2 separate regions of the Homo sapiens genome follow, and region 1 is linked to region 2. Evidence: promoter capture Hi-C in 16 types of primary human blood cells and fetal thymus (Javierre and others, 2016). All regions are on one chromosome and are shown on one strand. Each heading gives the region's core, a stretch centred on a gene start or on the middle of the fragment in contact. The rest is flanking DNA. Distances are from core to core; before and after follow the strand shown. Region 1 overlaps ZNF185 (zinc finger protein 185 with LIM domain). Region 2 holds the start of BGN (biglycan).

Region 1 (6,832 bases), core at 869-3,368, 520 kb after region 2:
GTGTTATGGGTGTGCACAGAATTTTAAATTGGATGGTCCATGAAGGTGATCAGGAAGAAGGTAGCATCTGAGCAGAGATGTGAAGGACGCAAGGGAGATGGCCACGTGGGCATCTGGGAGATGAGCATTCCAGGCAGAAGAGACAACCAGCACACAGCTCAAGGCCAGAGAATGCCTGGAATGGTATGAGTAAGAAGGAAAGGTGGTGGGGGCTGGATAAAGCAGCACCTGCTTGGCCAGCCACCTTGAGGACTCTGGCTTTTAGTCCAAGTAAAATGAGGCCTGGGGAAGGTATGGAGCAGAAGAGGGATGTGATCGGATTGAAACTCTTCACTCTTGCAGCCATGCTGGGGTACACTTCAGGGTGGGAAGGAAGGAAAGATGATTGCTTAGGTTATTGTAATCATCCACATGGGGGATTAGGGGACAATATGTTTATGGTGAAGGTGGGGAGAAATGGTTTGCCTCTGGATCTGTTTGGCAGGGAGAGTTAACAGGCTAGGCTGATGGGCTGGAAGTGCAGTGGGAGATCAGCAGGTGATGTGTAGGTTTTGGTCTATGCAAGCTGAAGAATGGGACTGCCATTTACGGAGCTGTGGATGGCAATGCATAGAGCATGGCTTCCATGGTTGAGTATGAAATGACAATTAGACTCCCCAGGTGGAAATGAGCTGTGGGAAGTTGAAACACAAGTCTGAAGTTCAGGAAGATGATGTGGGCTGGAGCAGCTGCAATTCCAGAAGGAGGCAGTGTATACTGTATCTGTTGAAGCCTGGACCCCAGTGATACAACGCAGTGAGTGCAGATAGAAAAGCGAAGGGGTCTAAGAACAAAGTCCTAGAGTACTCCAAAGTTGAGAGAATGGGATGATGAGAAAGAACCAGCAATGGAGATAGAAAAGGAGTGACCAGTGAGGTGGAAGGAAAGGCAGAATGGGCCTAGAGGCCTAGCAAAGGGAATGGACCTGATATGGTTTGGCTCTGTGTCCCCATCCAAATCTAATCACGAATTGTAATCCCCACACGTCAAGGGAGGGAGCCATAATTCCCACATGTTGAGAGAGGGAGGTGACTGGATAATGGGGGCAGTTCCCCCCATGCTGTTCTCGTGATAGTGACTTCTCAGAGATGTGATGGCTTTATAAGCGTTGGCATTTCCCCTGCTTGTACTTCTCTCTCCTGCAGCCTTGTGAAGAAGGTGCCTGCATCCCCATCACCTTCTGCCATGATTGTAAGTTTCCTGAGGCCTCCCAGCCATGTGGAACTGTGAGTCGATTAAACCTCTTTCCTTTATAAATTACCCAGTCTCAGGTATTTCTTTATAGCAGTGTGAAAACAAACTAATACATGTCCACTGGACCAAACGCTGCTGCTCAGTCAATGAGGCCTGAGAAGTGTGCATGGGGTCTAGCAATGTGGTGGTCATTGGGGACCTTAGCACTAGCATTTTTAGTACCATGGTGGAGGTGAGAGCCTCAAAGAAGTGGGTTCAAAAGAAAATGAAAAAAGAGTAAAGACTTTCATGTTTATTTAGCACCTGCTTCCTATCATTGACCAGAAGGACAGGGTCTTTGATTTGTCACTGGTGTGTCCTCAGTGCCTACTATAGTGTGTGGCCCACAGTGGGTGCTCAGGAAATATTTAAATTATTAAATGGATGAATGAATGAATGATTCTTTCTCATCCTTCAGGTTTCAGTTCAGAGGTCACCTCCCCCAGAATACCATCCTTAGCCCCAGAAATCCAGGTGACACACCTCTGTGCTCCTTTAGCTATTGCGACTGAAATAGGATTGTTGCTTTGTCTTTCTCCCCATGAGATGGTCACTCCACAAATTCACAGATTGTCTGTCTTGCTCATTGATGTATCCCCAGTGCCCCACAGAAGGCTTGATGCACTGTACAAGGAAAGTGAGTAGCCTTGAGGGGTGGAGCTGAGTGCAGGGGAACATTAAAGAGGGCCTGGAAGATAGCCTCCTTTTGTATAGCAAACTCATACTAAAGCCAAATATCATGTCCTTGTGAAAAGCTTCTCTGTTAGATGTGGTGGTATGTGCATCTGTAGTCTCAGCAACTCAGGTGGCTGAGCCTGGATAACTGCTTGAGCCCAGGAGTTTGAGGTTGCAGTGAGCTACGACCATGCCACTGCTCTCCAGCCTGGGTGACAGAGTAAAAATCTGTCTCTAAAAACAAAAATGTAAAAAAGCTTCCCTGACTAAGTGTTGTGGGAAGTCAGGGACCCCGAACGGAGAGACCAGCTGGAGCCGTGGCAGAGGAACACAAATTGTGAAGATTTCATTTTAACATGGACATTTATCAGTTCCCAAAATTAGTACTTTCATAATTTCTTATGCCTGTCTTTAATCTCTTAATCCTGTTATGTTCAAAAAGAAAGGGAGAGATGTTGCGGGAAGTCAGAGACCCTGAACGGAGGGACTGGCTGGAGCCACAGCAGAGGAACATAAATTGTGAAGATTTCATTTTAGTATGGACATTTATCAGCTCCCAAAATTAATGCTTTTATAATTTCTTATGCCGGTCTTTACTTTAATCTCTTAATCCTGTTATCTTCGTAAGCTGAGAATATACATCAGGTCCACTCAGAACCACTATTGTGTTAACTGTACAAACTGATTGTAAAACATGTGTGTTTGAACAATATGAAATCAGTGCACCTTGAAAAAGAACAGAGTAACAGCGATTTTTAGGGAACAAGGGAAGACAACCATAAGGTCTGACTGCCTGTGGGGTCGGGCAGAATAGAGCCATATTTTTCTTCTTGCAGAGAGCCTATAAACAGACGTGTGCAAGTAGGGAAGATATCACTAAATTCTCTTCCTAGCAAGGAATATTAATAATTAAGACCCTGGGAAAGGAATGCATTCCTGGGGGGGGAGGTCTATAAACGGCCGCTCTGGGAGTGTCTGTCTTATGAGGTTGAGATAAGGATAGAAATACGCCCTGGTCTCCTGCAGTACCCTCAGGCTTACTAGGATTGGGAAACCCCCAGCCCTGGTAAATTTGAGGTCAGACTGGTTCTCTGCTCTTGAACCCTGTTTTCTGTTAAGATGTTTATCAAGACAATACATGCACAGCTGAACATAGACCCCTATCAGGAGTTCTGATTTTGTCCTTGCTCTGTTTCCTCAGAAGCATGTGATCTTTGTTCTGCTTTTTGCCCCTTAAAGCATGTGACCTACTCCCCATTTGTACACCCCCTCCCCTTTTGAAATCCTTAGTAAAAACTTACTAGTTTTGTGGCTCAGGTGGGCATCACAGTCCTACCAATATGTGATGTCACCCCCGGAGGCCCAGCTATAAAATTCCTCTCTTTGTACTCTTTCTATTTCTCAGCTGGCTGACATTTATGGAAAACAGAAAGAACTTACGTTGAAATATTGGGGGCGGGTTCCCCCGATAACCAAGCAGCCCAGAGTAGGTCACTATATTATAGCATATAGGTCAAGGCTGCAGTGAGGGCCTTGACCCTGTCTCCAAAACATACCCTGTATGTTTTGTTCAGAGCACTTATCACAACAGTATTTTGTTGTGGGATGTTTGATTTACTCCTCTCCTCTTACACTGTGAGCTCCACAGAAATACAAACTGTGTCTACTTTACTGGGGCCCCCACGTCTGGCACATGGGTAGACATCCAATCAATGCTTGTTGAGTGATTAAGTGACCAACTGGAACATCAAGGTGCTGATCAAAAGAAGGCATCGATGGGCAGAAGACATTTGTGGGAGGAGATACTGAAGCAGGGGGATCTGCCAAGGGCACTACAGGCAGAGGACATGATAAGGAGGTGATCTGGCAGCCAAGCATTATGCATGCCACGTTGCAGCAAGCTCACAACTGGACAGCTAGCACAATGCGGAGCACAGTGTACAGTGGGCCTCAGAAATGAAGAGCAATGTGCAGCAGACTTTCAGAGAGAGGGAGAGGCAGTTCTCAAGCAGGGTGCATTATTCAGAGAGGCTGTGAAGGCAGAGGGCAGAGTGGACAGTGGTCACAGGCAGTGACCGCAGCTGTGCAGGGAGAACCCCATGAAGAACACATTCACAGCAAAGCACAGGGCTATAAAACAAGCCTGCACAAATTTTAAAATGTTGAAGTTATGCAAAGTGTGTTAACCTACCATAATGGAATGAAATTAGAAACTGATAACTGAAGGAAATTTGGGGAACCCACATTAAACAACAAACTCCAAAATAACCAGTGGATCAAATAAGAAGTGATAAGGGGAATTAGAAAACCTTTGAGATGAATGAAAAGGAAAACACAACATGCAGCTAGAGAAGTGCTCACAGAACAATTTCCAGCTGTACATGCATACATTCAAGAAGAAAGATATTGGCCGGGCATGGTGGCTCACACTTGTAATCCTAGCACTTTGGGAGGTCAAGGTGGGAAGACTCATTGAGCCCAGGAGTTCTAGACCAGCCTGGGCAACATGGCCAAACCCCACCTCTACAAAAAAATTCAAAGGAAAAAATTAGCCAGGCATGGTGGCACGTGCCTGTAGTCCCAGCTACTCAGGAGGTTTAAGTGGCAGGATTGCCTGTGCCCAGGAGGTCAAGGCTACAGTGAGCCATGACTGTGCCACTGCACACCAGCCTGGGAACAGGGTAACACCCTGTCTCAAAAAAAAAAAAAAAAAAAAAAAAGAAAGAAGGATCTCCAATCAATAACCTAACTTTACAACTTAAAGGAACTAGAAAAAGAAGAGCAAAGTAAATCCAAAGCAAGTAGAAGGGAAGAAATGACAAAGATTAAAGGTGACATTAATGAAACAGAGAGCAGAAAATAATAGAAAAAAATCAATAAAATGATTTTTTTTTAAAAAAGTCAATGATGTGGTTCTTTACAAACAAGAAAATCAACAGACCTTAAGTAAGACTAACTAAGCAAAGCACACTATGGCAAGGGCAATTACAGGCAGAAGCCCTTGTGCAGATAGGCCTCATTGGCTGGGCCCTAGGTGATGAACAAACTCAGCAGCAGAGATCAGAGAGCAGAAGGCATCTGCAGGTAGAAGGCACTGTGCAAGGAGCCAGGAGCAGAAGGCATTAGGAGGCAGAGGACAGTGGGAAGAAGGCATTCAGAAGCAGGTTTGGGACCTTCACAGGCAGAGGATACTGTACAGAGAAGTTTCACAAGAGGAATACATTCTGGGGAGGAAAATCCACAGGCCAAACACAATCCTAAGCAAGGAGCAGTCCCCAGAGGACATAGAGATGCATGGGTAGGAGACCGTCACAGATACAAACCTGGGATAGAAAGGAGGAGTCATGGTAATGGAGGAGGCCCAACAATAGGATCGACTTGCTGTTTCAGAATGACCCTCCCCTATTTTTCCTTTAGGTCTTTGTGTCACACTGTCACCAATTAAAAGTCCTACAAATACCTAGTTAGGAGCTACTGTTGCAGTCCTTGTCATTTGAATTAGTAAAAGCTCTTCCTTCCTTCCCATTGTAACAAGATGAAGGCCAAAGTTGGGGTGAGAAAATAGCTAGAGGGACACTAGTCCAATGGCCCTGAGGCCCCTACTCAGTGGCAGAAGGAGTTCTCGGAGTATTATGTCTATCTTTGGACTTCCTGATCACCCTTTCCTGTCCCTGGGTTGAATCAAGACTTGGATCGCATGCAGATTACACTGGTACACATCTAGAGGAATGAGTTGGAGTATGTGTTGGGGTCACCTTTGAGGAGGGCCTTTGAGAGATGTGTATTCAGAATTACTGTCAAGGAAGAGTTAGAGGGACCAGGGGTGTTTAAATGTGAGAAGAGTTGACCAAGACAGAATCTGAGAAGTATTTTCATCTATTTTAAGAGCTGGCATCTAGCGGAGGGATTAAAGACCACCAGTGGGTGACATACAGAAATGGACTTTAACTCAACTGAAGAATGCATCTTCTAAAACCACAGACAGCAGGGGCTTGTAAGGAACTGAGCTCCTGGTCACTGGAAGTGGGCACTAATGACTAGGTGGCTGTCTGTCTGCAGTGGTAATCATGAGAAGGATGGACCGCCCCCGCTCTCTGCCGCCACAATACAATATTCTTCATTAAGATTTGATGTGTCTAGAATTCCACAGTTCCTGTGCATGCCCAGTGTCTAGAGCTTGCTATTAAGTACTTGTTTACTTTTGTACAGAGAATGGCTTCAGGCAATAGGAATAAAGAAATCACACAGCTGAATACACCAAGTTATTACACTTCAAAAGAAAACTTTAACACTGACACATGTGATATCTTACCATTTATTATAATTGCGCACATTAGTGTGGATTAAGTATGATTAGAAACACTAAGCAATTGAAAAGAAGCAAAAAGGTAATGCATCCCTCTTCCTCAGATCTGCAAAATTCTGTGCCTTTTTAGACATGAGAGAGGCTGTTTTGGATCTAAGTCAATAATGGCTCTTGCAAGATTTCTTTCAATGTCTTGCATGTTGGTTCTAAAACTCCCTTAAAGGCAGACTATACCTTGAACGGGGGAAGCCAGCCTATCTTGGGCCTCTTTACCTTGCCTTTCATCCACTGGTCCTGCACTGAGACTCAGGGATAGCACCTCTCACCAACGGGGTGACTTTTATTTCCTTCACTCATTCATTGAGTGCCTGTGTGTTAGTGTCCACCACGTGCCAAGTCTGATGTTGGGGACTACAGCTGAGGAAGAGCAGTTGGTATTTAGTGTGGGTACATGCCCTCCAGAGGAAATCCACTACAAATAAATGGAATGTTCCTCTCTGATCATTTGGCAGGAAGAACAAGCCCACAAGCCAATGTGCATAGGGCTCAGAAACTGGAGAAAGACGTAGACATTTTATA
Region 2 (7,640 bases), core at 3,955-6,454:
TGGATTGCTCGAGGTCACAGCCAAACAAGATGCGTTGGCAGCCTCTGAGAACATGGAGGGTCCGTGCCAGGCATTCAGGCCAGGCCAAGGGCGGCGGGAGCAGGGCTTGAGGTCTGGCGGGCCCTGGGAGCTCGCCTGCAGATGGTGTGGCTCACAGCTGCCAAGTGGCAGACGCCGGATGCTGTCTCCGCAGCCTCAGCCCTGGGCGTCTGCCCCCCTGAGCAACCCGACCTGAACTCTGACACATGTGCCACCTTCCACGCAGCCCTGCGGGGTCCCCGGGACTGTGTCCTTCCTCCCCTCCCCTCTGGCCTCCAAAGCCTTTTGGGCCCAGTTTCAACCAGCAGCCTGGTGCTTGTGCCCCCGCTGACACCCGGCCTGCCCCCTGCCACTCTCCCAGGCCCCAGTCCACCAGTCCCTCCCCGCCGATGGCTCCAGCCTGTACTTGGGCATCAACCAGAGAGGGGATGTGTACCCTCCCTGGCCTTGCCAAAGCCCGGCGTGTGCGTTCATCTGTGGGAGTGGCTGCCTGAGGGGCTGGGGGCTGGAGTGGGGAGGGGTGGACCTTGTGCCACATTCCAAGCCCCTGCCGTTGCCGGAGCATGCCCTTCAGGCAGCCACGCTTGGGCGTCTGCTCCCCTTGCAGCCACGTGTGGAGGGGCTGGGAAACCCCGGCTCATCTGCTGCTCAAATCCTTTCCAGAGGTTTTCTGGCAGGGTGGCGACAAGGGTGGAGTTCTCCCTTGATGCGCCCAGCCACCTCCCACCTCTCTGTGCCAGCCCTTTGCAGCCTGTGGCGCCCATGTCAAGGTCCAGCCTGTCCCCACAGTCGGCGGAGTGCGGGACTCAGCCCTTCCCACTGTGCGCTCCTGGTCCTCTGCACACGGACTACTGCTGCCCCCTCCCACTCTCCGAAGAGATCCGGGGCCTCCTGCTAGAGTCTCCAAGGAAAAGGGAGGATGCTGTCACCTCTCAGAGGCAGAGCAGGGGACTCATGTGATTTCTTTACTTAGCATCCTGCCGTCCCCCGTTGACTATAAGAAGGAAGCAATGCTCTTAGAACTTGATGAAGGGGTAAACTGAGGCTCAGGAAGTTGGCCCCAAACTCTTGCCCAAGGCCACACGGTGAGGAAACAGCAGAGCTGGGGCTGCACACACTGTCTGTCTGTCCGTCTGTGTCCTTGCCCCCATGTCTGGACCCACCCTCTCCCAATGCACACAGTGCCACAGGCCCCAAAGCTGACACGCTTCACACTCTCGGGGCTGTGCAGGGGGCTCCCCTGGAAGCATGGCCCTTCTGAGGACCATCAGTAGCTCCCTATGGCCCACAGATCCAGAAGCCCCTCCTCAGCCCCAACACAGCCAGCAGGGCAGCCCCCGCCCAGCCTCTCACCTCTGCCTCTGTCTGCAGGGAGTCTCCTGGAAAAGCCATCGTCTCCCCAGGCGAGCACTTCAGGGCCCCAGGGAAGGTGTTCCCGGCCTGCCCCCCAGAGCCTGGGGCCCTGCCTCCCTCCCTCCCTGGTACAGGCCCACCAAGGCCAGGAGGGGAGGGGAAGGTTTCCTGCAGCCCCTCCCTGCCGCAACCCGCTCTCTGCCGGGGGCTCAGGCTGGGCTGGGATTAGCCTCCTTCAGCCAGCCAGGGTGGCCCACAGCCTGCTTAGCTTCAGGCTCCTGGGACTGCTGGGCTCCCATGGGTGTGTGTCTCTTTGCATGAGGGCAGCCTCCAAGAACCATGGGATGGCAGTCAAGGCCAAGCAGGGACTCAGACTTCCAGAGGATAGAAGTCACACTGGCTTCCCAGACTTCCCCTGCCTCCAGGGACAGGGCTGCCTTCTAATCTTCTGGCCACCCAGGAGTCTGCCCGCCATGCTCCCCTTGGCCCATCTGAACACCTCAGGGACCAAACAGGACTGGGATGGCCAGCAGAGGCAAGTTCAAGAGGCCCACAGAGTCCGTTGGGCCCCTGGTCCTCCAGCTTATCTCAGGCCAGTGTTTAAGTGGAGCTCAGGCTTAAGATGCAGTGGACCAGGAGAGTTCCATGCAAGAAGGCTGGCTAGAGCCCCAGGCCCCTAAGCCTCAGAGATGAGCCTCATGGGAATGGGCAGCACCTTCACCAGGCCTGCCAGGGAGCCGGGACCTGACCCTGCCCCTTGGGCTGGCTGGGATCAGAGCTGCGCAGGTGGGAAGCTGGGAGTGGGAGGGTTCTGCAGTCCTCGGAAGAGCCAAGGCTGGTGGCCCCTCCATAGCCACCCCAGAGGCTGCTCTGACCTAGAGCCATGACGGGGCAGGGGAAGAAGGCAAACAGCGAAACAGCGAAGGGGGCAGCTGGGATGGTTCCCAGGAGTCTAGAGTCCCAGAAGGGGCTTCTGGCTGTGGGATTCAAGTGGTGGAGGGGATCTTCTGGCCTGGAAGGGGACCTGGGGAAGGAGGAATGAAGCACAGGCCCCACCCCTCCAGAGGAGGTGGCCCCAGGCCTTCCCCAGGGAACCCTGGGAAGCTGGTTCTTTCTGGAAGGCTGCAGAAGGGCCTGGCCATGGGTCCTGGAGGCCACTTAGGCTAGGCGGGCCTCAGGCCAGGAGGACTGAGCCATGCGCCCTCCCCACAGCGCAGCCCCTCTGCACACACCCCACAGCTGGTCCCTCTAAGACTTGCGGAAAGGGCTCTGAGTGGCCGAGCTGTGGCCCCTGATCTCCCAACCCAGCATCTGAGCAGAAGAGGACAGGAGCTGGGGCACTGATCGCCCCAGGCCCGGTCGGCAGGGTGGGGGCCAGGGCCGGCAGGATCCCGGGTTGCGCTGCCTTCCGAGGGAGCCGGTGCCCACCCAGCGGCCTGCAGCCCAAGGCAGGGTGCCCTGGGAAAGCCACCGCCACCCCCAGCCCCTCGGTGTGAGCAAGACCCCCAGCTGGTGGGTCCCCACCCACCAGTGGGGCTCCCAGGCCTGTCGGGGGCTCGGTGGTGGGCCTGGATGCTAGGGGGGCAACGTGCGGCAGGGACCAAGCTCTCCGGCCCACAGATGAGTGGGAGGGGGTCGTGGTGGGCATGGGAAGACATTTCCGACAAGCAGGGGTGTTGGGGGGTGAGCAAGGCAGGGGAGGGGCCCTGGCAGGTGGGGTGCCAGGGACCCCAGGGCTGGGGCTAGGCCTGTGGGTGGGGCGTGTGCTGGGGATTCTGTGGGCCGAGGACATGTGACTCCCGGGCAGGCTGGAGATGCTGGGGGGTGGGGGGTGGGGGGTGGGCCCGGGAAGCACAGGAGACGGCAGGTGGGGAGGTCCTCATCCCACCTCTATACGGGGTGGCAAGGACTCAGAAGCCCTTGCTGAAGGCTCTGAGTGCTAACTGTCAAGTGTGAACTCATTACAAACCCCTCCTCTGGGGACTTGGCGCTGTCACTGGAAGGGACACGCTATAGCTTTGTTTGAGTGACTCTGGAATGTTGCTAAAGACAGGAAACTCATTCTTGCCTTGGAAACACCCCCCTTCCTTTCCCAGACTCCCCATCTATGCGTTGGTAGGGTTAATGCCCACTGCCGTACGGGTCCTTGGGGCTTGAAGGTGGGCCAGGGAGGCCAGGGCTGCCACCCACAGCTGGCCAGCTTGCCATGGGAGCCCTCTCTGCTCCCTGGCTCGCAACCTGCTCCCACCGCCCAGCCCTGGTGGCTTGGAGGCAGCCCTGCATCTTCCTTTCAATATACCCACACGGGCTTGCCCTCAAAGGCTCACCATGCTGGCCCACAGTGGCCATACATGGGCATGCTCCGCACCAAGACATCCATGCTCATACACCAGCTCTCCTGGGGTGCGGCTGGCACCGGCGGCTGGGTGTCACCAGGAGGTGCTCACCCGCACCCCTGGGCGCTGGTCCCCGGGAGCCTTTCTGGCACGGGGGCAGGGGGGCTGAGCATCTCCAGCTTGTCTCAGTTCCAATTAGTTGCTATAGGGCAGAGAGCTGGCAGGCCAGGGAGGGGCGAGGGCCCAGAAACAGGACCCCCTGAGGATGGGACCTGAGCAGTCTGGCAGCCAGGACAGCAGGAGAGAGGCCTGCCCACCAAGACAGACCACTGGAGACTGATGTACCCTGTGCCCTGCAGATCCCTGGGCCCCCTGCTCTGCTCAGCAGGCGCTCAGGCACCCAGCCCCGCCCATGGAGCAGTGAGGGGGCGCTCCCCTCCGTGGGCCTTCCAGGGCACTCTCTCGCTCCCTCTCCTGGGTCCCTTGGCAGGCCCCTCTGGGACCCCAAGCCAGGTCCGCCCTGGGGAGCATGGCACAGTTGCCTGATTTTCTCTCCTTCCCCTCCACACCCATTCTGAGTCCCAGTCCAAGGGGGTCCTGGAAACAGACAGGGCTGAGCCACCCAGGCACCCCCAGTCAGGGCCCTTGCAGCCAGGGCTCCCAGGACCCAGACTTCTCACAGAGGATGTAGAGGCAGAGCATTAACCTGGGGGTGAGCGAGCGAGGAACATCTGGGCAGGGTGCCTGGGGTGTGCCTGGGAAACTAAGTCTTTCAGCCCATGCCAAGGACTGGCCTCAGGCAGTGCAGCGGAGGACTGCTCCTGGGTGCTGAGCTCGGTGGGCGCTGGGCGGTCCTCCCCGATCCGACCCAACCCGGGCCAGGCGCCAAGCCCTGGAGCAAGGAGGCGCCTGGGCAGAGCGAGGCTGAGGGAGTGGAGCATGCGCCTGGGACTTGCAATGATGAAACAGGGCCATTGGCAAAGCTGGGGTACCAGTCACCCAGCCACGCTCTAGGGTGGTAGCCAAGAAGACGGACCCCGAGCGGGAGGCAGAGAGACAAGAGGTGGATGAAGCAGAGCAAGGTCAGAAGGGAGAGGGAGAGGAAGGGGTGAGGGAAAGGTGCCTGGAGGGCGGCGAGACGAGGCAGAAGCCTGACAGGGACCAAGGGGGCCGCAGGGTGGCGATGAAGGGGCGTGGATCAGCAGCCTACAGAGAGCACCGGGGAAATCTGTGGACACCCTCGCGGCACTGGGGACAGCAGGACCAGGGCTTGGGACAGCGGAGGCAGCAGAGCCAGGGGCATCTCTGGGTTGCTGAGGAGGCAGCTTGAAGCCAGCCCTACCTGGAGAGGGGAGGCGCCAGGCGCAGGCTGACTAGTTGGCGGGCTGGGGTGGTGGGCCGTCCGCACGTCTATCTGTCCGGTGTGTCCGGCGGACCGAAAGCAGCTACTCACTCCTGGGCAGTTTGTGGAGAGAGGGAGACAGAGGCGGCGGGCGGGAGGCTAAAGGCTGGGCAGGCGGGCCGACGGGGAGGGGACAGCGGGGAGAGGGCGGGGAGGGAGGAAAGGAGGGAGGGGGCTGGTGGGGCGGAGAGGGCGGGCGAGCAGGAGGGGGCAGGCTTCCCGGCCCCCCTGGCAGCTTCAAAGGGAGCAATTTTCTTGTAGACGGCTGGACTAGCTGAGCCCCCGCCCCCTCGCCCCCACCACCTCCCCCCCCCTCCCCCGCCTGGGGCAGACAGCAAAGGAACGGACACACTCGCACTCACTCAAACAAGGACCCAGAGAGTCAAACTTTCCACTGCCCAGATGGGGACACTGAGGTGCTGGCTGGCATCTCGCCAGGCAGAGGAAAGAGAGATGGAAGAAAGACGAGGGGGAGGCGGCCTTGGGCTGCTAGGCCCATGAGTGGCCCCTGGAATTTGGTCCTGAGCCTGCCAGGAACCTGCTTGGGCCTAAGCAAGGAGGTGGTTTCTCCAGGATCAGAGAGGTAGCTGTTGTGGATTTCTGGAAGGACTTCATGTAGGCTCCTGGCGCCCTGTGCCCTCCCTTCCACTCCAGACTTTCTTCCCTTAAAAAGAGGGCCCGATCCGGCTGGTGGTGGCAGGACGGGGCAGGGGGCTCCCCAGCTTGCCTGCCCTGAACTGATTCAGAGACGAAGGATCCAGCGAGTCAGTCTTCTTGCTCAATCCCTGCAGGTCCCCTCGGACATGAGAACCACTCTGTGGGTGGCCACTTCCTCTGGGCTCAGCCCTGTGCTGGTCACTTACGGGGGCTAACCGGGTTACCCCACCAAGACTCAGCCGCTTCCTGAGGGCCCAAATGAGTCCAGTTCCTCCAGTGGCTAGAGCCCAGGTCCTTAGTACGACACTGCCCCCCTGTCCCGTAGTGTCCCCTTCTTCCCTCAGCAAGAGCAGCTCCTGAGACACAGGGGTAAGAGTTTAGATGGAGTGAGAAACAGATCTGCAATAGAACTGGGGGCCAAGAGTGCGGAAGACCAAAAGAGAAAATTGCATATTGAGAGAAAAAGCTCGAAGGGGCAGAGAGGGAGAGAGGGGTGGCTAGAGAGAGGCGGCATCCAATGGAGAGAGGACAACGTCGAGGGCTGAGGGTCTTCAACCCCTGGCAGTGCCATCACTCAACCGGGGGGTGGGGTCTGGGAGGTCCCAGGCCAGGGAGGATGCTCCCAGGGGAGCTCTACCTGGGGGCATGGCAGGGCACAGACCCCCTTCCTGTTCACCAGCGGCAGCCCAGGGCCTGGCTAGGACCTGGGACGCATGGCACCTTGACCAAACTGTGGTACCTGCCTGCAAGAAGCTTCTAGACTGGGCCAGGGAGAAGAGAGACGTGGGAAACCAGGGGCCAGGCTGGTAACCCTGGTTCTCTCTTGATTTCATGGTTGGAATGAGGAGATTGGAGACCACATATGCCCTTTCCAGACAAAGGAGATGGCTTGTCTTTCGGCAGGTTTGTGTGTTTTACCTTTTGCCCAGCCTCAGCGTCCGACTCTTGGCAGCCTGGTCTCATCTCTGTCCCACCCTCTTTCCCTCCCCCACTGCCAACTCATTCGTGGAGAAATATGTCGGTAGAGAGCGGGACAGGCAGCGAAGCCTGACTAGCAGTCTGGGTGGAGAGAGAAGCATTTGGAAACATTCCGCTCAGTGACAGCAGCCAGTCGCAAAAGGCCGCAGAGCCTCTGGTTCCATTCATTTGAAATGTCCACACTAGGCTCATCTGTGGGGACAGAAAGCGGATTTGTGGGCAGTGGGTGCTAGAGGGGTGGTACCTAAAGGTATGGGTTTTCTTTTTGAGGTGATGAAAATGTTCTACAATCGACTGAGTGATGGTTGCACAGTTCTGTGAATAGACCATATAAAAGCCCTTGCCTTGTACGTGCTCAATGCGCAAATCGTGTGGTAAGCACAGCCACTCTCAGTAAAGCCGTTTCAGAAAAAAGGAGAAACCCACTCAAGGCATGCCTGCTGCCCGAGGTGCTGGTACCCAGTACCTTCCTGCACTGCTTGGGGACTGAGAACCCAGGAGCTGTCACTCAGGGCCTCAGCCTCCAGGAGTCCCAGTGGGGGTGAAACAGCTCTGAATACCGTGGGGGCGCAGGGCCATGCACAGTGCCAGAGGCTCGGGAGGGCTACCTGGAGGAGGTGACCTGGAGCAGACCAGTAGGGAAGAGGGAAGTTGCCGGTGGAAGGAAGAGCACACGTGCGGGGGGGTGTGGGGAGACACAGGGGAGCCAGGCGGCGCTGCAGTCCGGCCCTGCACCGACCTCACCCTCAGGTCTCAGCCAGGCATGTTCCTGGATGGGGGCTTGGAAGTGGCGATGAGGCGACACCCTGCTTGGGGGAGACACATTATGCATGCACCTTGCAGCTCTTACCTGAAGTTGGGGGCTGCTTCTGGGG

Evidence for each region. Contacts are between HindIII fragments. The CHiCAGO score rates a contact against its expected background, and 5 or more counts as called.
Region 1: a fragment that was not itself captured here is called in contact with the fragment with the promoter of BGN in region 2 in 13 of 17 cell types (M1 macrophages, M0 macrophages, total B cells and 10 more); the score reaches 15.3 in M1 macrophages.

What each region holds. Positions count from the first base shown.
Region 1 is chrX:152,972,889-152,979,720 of GRCh38, reverse strand. ZNF185 (zinc finger protein 185 with LIM domain) reads right to left here. Exons shown (of 25, transcript NM_001395254.1): 25 at 6,247-6,832. Among named protein-coding and RNA genes, the nearest start is that of PNMA5, 18 kb to the left of the region's middle. The HindIII fragment of the contact is 177 bases long and covers 2,030-2,206 here.
Region 2 is chrX:153,492,544-153,500,183 of GRCh38, reverse strand. It overlaps BGN (biglycan), which reads right to left and starts at 5,204. Exons shown (of 8, transcript NM_001711.6): 1 at 5,071-5,204. It also overlaps a transcript of HAUS7 not described here. The HindIII fragment of the contact is 11,109 bases long and covers 1-6,542 here.